2 separate regions of the Homo sapiens genome follow, and region 1 is linked to region 2. The links are contacts of gene promoters, found by promoter capture Hi-C in human tissues and cell types (Jung and others, 2019). All regions are on one chromosome and are shown on one strand. The core of a region is centred on a gene start or on the middle of the fragment in contact, and the rest is flanking DNA. Distances in the headings are between cores, read along the strand shown.

The links. Contacts are between HindIII fragments. The study calls those that stand out against the background at their distance.
Region 1: a fragment that was not itself captured here is called in contact with the fragment with the promoter of PCK1 in region 2 in 1 of the 25 tissues and cell types used here (lymphoblastoid cells).

The regions. Positions count from the first base shown.
Region 1 is chr20:59,346,795-59,349,601 of GRCh38, reverse strand. No RefSeq gene overlaps it. Among named protein-coding and RNA genes, the nearest start is that of EDN3, 48 kb to the right of the region's middle. The HindIII fragment of the contact is 8,722 bases long and covers 1-2,807 here.
Region 2 is chr20:57,559,742-57,562,441 of GRCh38, reverse strand. It overlaps PCK1 (phosphoenolpyruvate carboxykinase 1), which reads right to left and starts at 1,332. Exons shown (of 10, transcript NM_002591.4): 1 at 1,239-1,332; 2 at 807-1,070; 3 at 190-371. The coding sequence starts at 1,030. The HindIII fragment of the contact is 15,943 bases long and covers 1-2,700 here.

The DNA.
Region 1 (2,807 bases), core at 304-2,803, 1.8 Mb before region 2:
ATCAATCATCACCATAGTCATCATCCATCATTTCCTCATTATCATCCCCACCATCATCCTCACCATCATTATCATCATCATCATCACTGTTATCATTAATCACCATTATCATCATCTTCATTATCAACATCAATCATCACCATTATCATTGTCATAATCATCATCACCAATCACCACCATAATCATCACCCATCATTATCATTATCACCATCAATATCATCTTCATCATCACCAATTATCACCATAATCATCATCCATCACTATTATCATTATCATCATCAATATCACTATTTTTGTCATTCCGCAGGGCCCTTACTATGTGCCAATCACTGTTCTAATGAAATGAATTAATTTATTGATCCTCACCACAACTCTTTAAGGCAGGTACTATGATTATTATTTCTCCGTACTTTAAAGATGAGCAAATTAATGCTTGAAGGAGTTACATGCTTGGCTCAAGGCCACAGGGCTAGCAGGCAGCAGAGCAGGAATAAGAACAGCTCTGGTCCAAACCCCCTCCACTCTCCTGTGCCTCATCAACCTATAGTAGACACCCATGGGGGCAGATGAACATTTGTGTTGAGACGTGATGCTGGTTATGAACCTCAGTACCTACCCAGGACCCAATCTAGCCCCTTACAGAGGCCCCAAGTATGTCTGGATGACCCTGGAGCCTGCCAGCTTCAGTCCTCTCAAAGGACCCTCCCTGATCGGCCCTTCTGTCTCTGCCACCTCTTGTGCATCTCAGTGTCTTCCCTCTCCAGGAGCTGCCCAAGGGACTCTCGATGTTGGCCAGGGTGATAGATGCATCTGCCAAAGGAGCTGCCTTCCAGTAACCCCAGTTCCACAAACCCTAGAAAACCAAGAGTTAGGATGGATTCCTCTCCCCAACTTGTGGTCATAATTTATCACCTGGGCACAAAAATGGGGCTGCTTGAGCCCAGAGTCTTGCAAAATCCCTGTGGAAATCAATGTCCTTTGTTTGTGGCCTTAAAACCTCTCACCATCCAAACTTTAAATCCAGGCCAGGGGGCTAGTGAGGTAGTGTCACCATCAAGGGTGCTGTCATCCTCCTTCTCTCCTCTGCTAAGTACCCCACACAGACTTTCCATGCCCCTTCTCTAGAAAGCCAGAGCCCCAGTGCTTAACTCATGAAAAGAATCCCTCATCCCAAAAGGAAGGGCACAATGTGACCAAACAATCTAAATGCATTGCAAATGTTTGAGACAACCCCACAGAAAAGGAAAGGTACTGACTTTAGTAACTTTGGAAATGAGTGAAGTCAGTAACACTAAAGACAAAAGGAACTGTACAGAAGCACTTGACTCGAGCTGATAAGGTTGCTTCCCACAGGGTCAAGAGAGGCACCATTGAATAATTCTGTTACTAATATCCATGTCCCTGGCAACTGAATAATGAAGTAAATGGACAGAAGATGGTGAACACCAGCTTTTCACCACTGGAGTGAGATAAGCAAGGGGTGGAGGCCAAATGATCCATGTGGTGATGGATTAGAGTTGGAGACATTAGTGTGAACTCACGTTGAGCTTTACATGGATACAGGTGGTTCCAAATAAAAATATTTATAGATCTGTGCATATACATGGGTTAATATGCACAATCGGATCCCCTTACTCTGTCAGCTGAGATAGTCTACAAGCAACAGCATCCCTATAGCAATGAGCCCACCTGTACCCAGATCTTGGTTTCTAATATCATTGTCCAGTAAAAGGAACAAAGGACCCTTGGGAAAGTAGCTTCTTGTAGGACTGATACAAGATGACCTTGGGGTGTCTTATAGTGCCAGAAAGTAAGGAAATGGTAAAGCAAGTAATAAAGATCCCACTAACAACGATGAGACTATGTCAAAGGGACACAGGAGCCAGCTGAAAGAGCTCCCCGTGCCCAAAGCTGGGACAATTTGTGCAATAAAATACATAAAATGTTATTGAATTGTAACCCAAAGTAAAAATAAATATCCATGAGACCACACTGATTAAATAAATGATTGACTAAGTAAATAAATTCGAGAACAGAGATAAATCTCCCAGGCAGAAGAATTCCAAATAGTTTATGTAGATACTGTGCCCTCGGGGAGATGGAGGATGACCGGCTACTTCTTAAGTGTGGCTGCACAGTGACCTTCCTCCAAAGTGTGTAATGAAGGACCAGACCTAATGTTGGAGGACAAGAGGCCCTCTTGATACTTCAGACAAGATCTGAGGATGAGAAGGAATTTGCAGACTTGGTGCATGGTGGTGGAGATGTAGGGAAGCACATCCCAGGCACAAGTAACAGCATGGGCTAAGACTCTGAGGCAGGGAGGAAGCATCTTTGAAGGAGCAGTGAGAAAATCAGGGATGGGACTCAAACTACAATGCACAGATACAAAGTGGGCACCATCAATGAGAACAACACGTGCGTAGGCTCTCACAGGGTTCCAGAGCTCTCCAGACAGACAAGCTTTATCCATAGATTGGGAGAGGTCCCGAAGGTTCCTGGGGAGGGTTAGAAGTGGGCTTTTGGGAGCTCAGGGTGGTGGTTATTTAATAACCAGCAGGGAAGGCTGCACAATTCTAAACGGGGGTAGGGGAACAGGAAATCTTTCCGTAAAAGGCCATGTAGTATGTATCTTAGACTTTGTGAGTCACATGGTTATTAAAACTACTCAACTCTGCCATTGTGTCAAGAAAGCAGCCACAGACAATTGGCAGATGAACAGGCATGAATGTGTTCCAATAAAACTTTATTTGTGGACACCAGAATTTGAATTTCATATCATTATTTGTATCAAAAAAATATTCTTC
Region 2 (2,700 bases), core at 83-2,582:
TTGTATAAGACAGTCTGTAAAAGCAGAAGAGGGATGTGCATTTTCAATACATTGCCAACTTCATGTATGGAACTGAAAGACATCTGAGGTGGTGGGAGCTTCCATTATTGTTTGAATTACCATTAGGATAGATGTAAATAAGAAAAGGCTCTCTGCTGTTTTACCCAATCAAATCAATGTTCCGCTCACCTTTCATGCACCCTGGGAACCTGGCATTGAACGCTTTCTCAAAATCCTCCTCTGACATCCAGCGACCGAGCTGGCTGAGGCCTGTTTTGGGGATGGGCACTGTGTCTCTTTGCTCTTGGGTGACGATAACCGTCTTGCTTTCGATCCTGGCCACATCCCTGGGGTCAGTGAGAGCCAACCAGCTGCAAAAATCACAGGCTTCCTTTCAGCCAAGCACCACGGGCAGCGAACCATCTCCTTCAGTACCGTGGCTTTCCATGCCTAGCAGAGTGCTGAGCACGCTAACAACAGTCCATCAGTGTGAACACACAGACCATCTAAGACATGGCCAGGTGGACATTTACTCCACTAGGACCTGGTCTGTAGGAGAGGGGCTGCCTTTTTTTTAATCAGGAATCTAGTTGGCAGAGCTTTTGTGCACACACCTCATTTAAAGCTTGGGCTGGCCCACTAATGTCACAAAATTCAAGTCTGTATGGTTCTGACCATTGCATTCATCTTCTCAAGAGTCTGAAACTACCCGAAGGCCTTCATTCACCTTTCTCCACCAACTCCCAGGAGACGCAGGGGAGCCCTGCCTGCAGGGTGCTGGGACAGGCAGCGGGGGCCGAGCTTACCAGTTGTCATACTTCTTCAGCCGCCTGAGGATGCCCTCTTCCTCCATCTGGCCCAGAAGCCGCCCATTCTCCTCCTCAGAGCCGTCACAGATGTGGATGTGATCAGGCTGACACAGCTCAGCGTTATTCTCGAGAAACTCCCTCACTGCCTGGGGTAGGCTGTCCAGGCTTCCCTGGACAACTTTGGCCGAGAGGTTCAGGCCGTTTTGCAGCTGAGGAGGCATTTCTGCAGAGTGCTGCTAAGGGGCACGAATGTGAGGTCACCTGAAATAGAAAACGCAAGCGTCCTGAACAAAAACAACAACAGACACCTTCAAACACATTCGACGGCCTTTTGCCAGGGCTGTGCATTGCCAAATAGTTATTGCTCTCAGGAAAAAAATGAGTTCATCTTTGTAATTTTTCAAAATGTAAATGCAAAGCTCTACTTACCTTTCTTCTCTTTGGATGATCTCGAAGGGAGATCCACAGGTTTCTTTCCGGGCTCTTCCCGCCAGCAAGTTTGTGTTCCCAGTGGGAAGGCCGTGCTTGGTGGCAGAACCTCCCAGCTTTAAATACTGTGGAAAAGAATAGCCCTGCCCCTCAGCTGCACCCAGGGAGGCTCGCCACTGACGTCAGGGGGCAGGTCTCTGGATCACGGCCAGGGTCAGTTATGCTTTGGGCCAACTCACTGCAACACGCCCCAGGGAGATAATCATTGAACAGATAGTTGTTAATGAATGCTGGGAGACTTCGAGCCCTCAACCAACCATAGTGAGTTTTGACACAACTTCCAACTGACTAAACCTTGACCCATTTTACTGCTGTTGCAAAACACAACACCCTTTTCTTAACAGGCAGGTGGGTCAAGGACAAGGTTGGCCGGGGCACCTGCTAGCAGCACATTTTGTGTACCAAGAGCTGCTGGTTGGCAAAACACCACAGCTATAAGATGTCACCCCATAGTCAAAGGTCACAGTCAAAGTTCATGGGAAGGATGCACCCTAACTTGGGCAAATATGTGGCTTATTGGCAAAGATTGGAAATGCCTAACCTAACTGGGGGCTAATCACTGTATTGATTGTCTGCTCTGTGCCGCCCCCGCCCCCTGCCCCGATGTAAACTCCATGAGGGCAGGGATTTCTCCCTATTTTGTTCATTTTTCTCTCTGTAGTGCTTGGCATAGAGTAGGCACAGGATGCACACATGCTGAGCACTGTTCTAAGAGCTTGGCATCATTACTACCCTCTGAGGTGGAGGCTATGAACAACCCATGTACAGATAGGGAAACTGAGGCAGAGATTGTGTAGCCACTCACAGCCGGCTGGTGGGTTGCAGAGTGAGGATCTGAACATGAGCAAGTTGGGCCCTGGAGCACCACGTCTCTCCCTGTGAGGTACCGCCACCTTTCCAGAACCTTCCCTGTGTCCTCCAGGGAGTTCTGGGCTGAGTGCAGTTACTCCTGCAGTCCACTGGCCACTGTTCTCTTCCCTGGCAAGTCTTAGAGTTTAGGGAGTGGAGGGGGCTTGGCAGTTTTGCTAGATTATATGCTTAAGCAATGAAACCTTTATAACAGTTGTAAAGAATTTGCTTTGCAAGCCATCAGACCTTCAGTCAAATTTAATGAGCTATGGAAGCTGCTTGCTGGAGTTTGGAGAACACAGGGTGAAATGTCAAAAGAACGGGGCTAGGTCTCAACCCCCCACAGCCAGCCCACACTTCCATGGAAGCCTCTCTACCTAAGATGAGGTCAGGTGGGGACTTGGCCCATCTCCCCGCTGGGGTGTGGGATGATCCCTGAGATAATCCCAGGACTGGGCTTAGAAAGAGCTGCTGTGGCAAATACAAGTCACTGTGAATGGCAGCCTCCGACCAAACTCACTTAGAGAACCCTCCTGGGGGCTTGGGTCACACT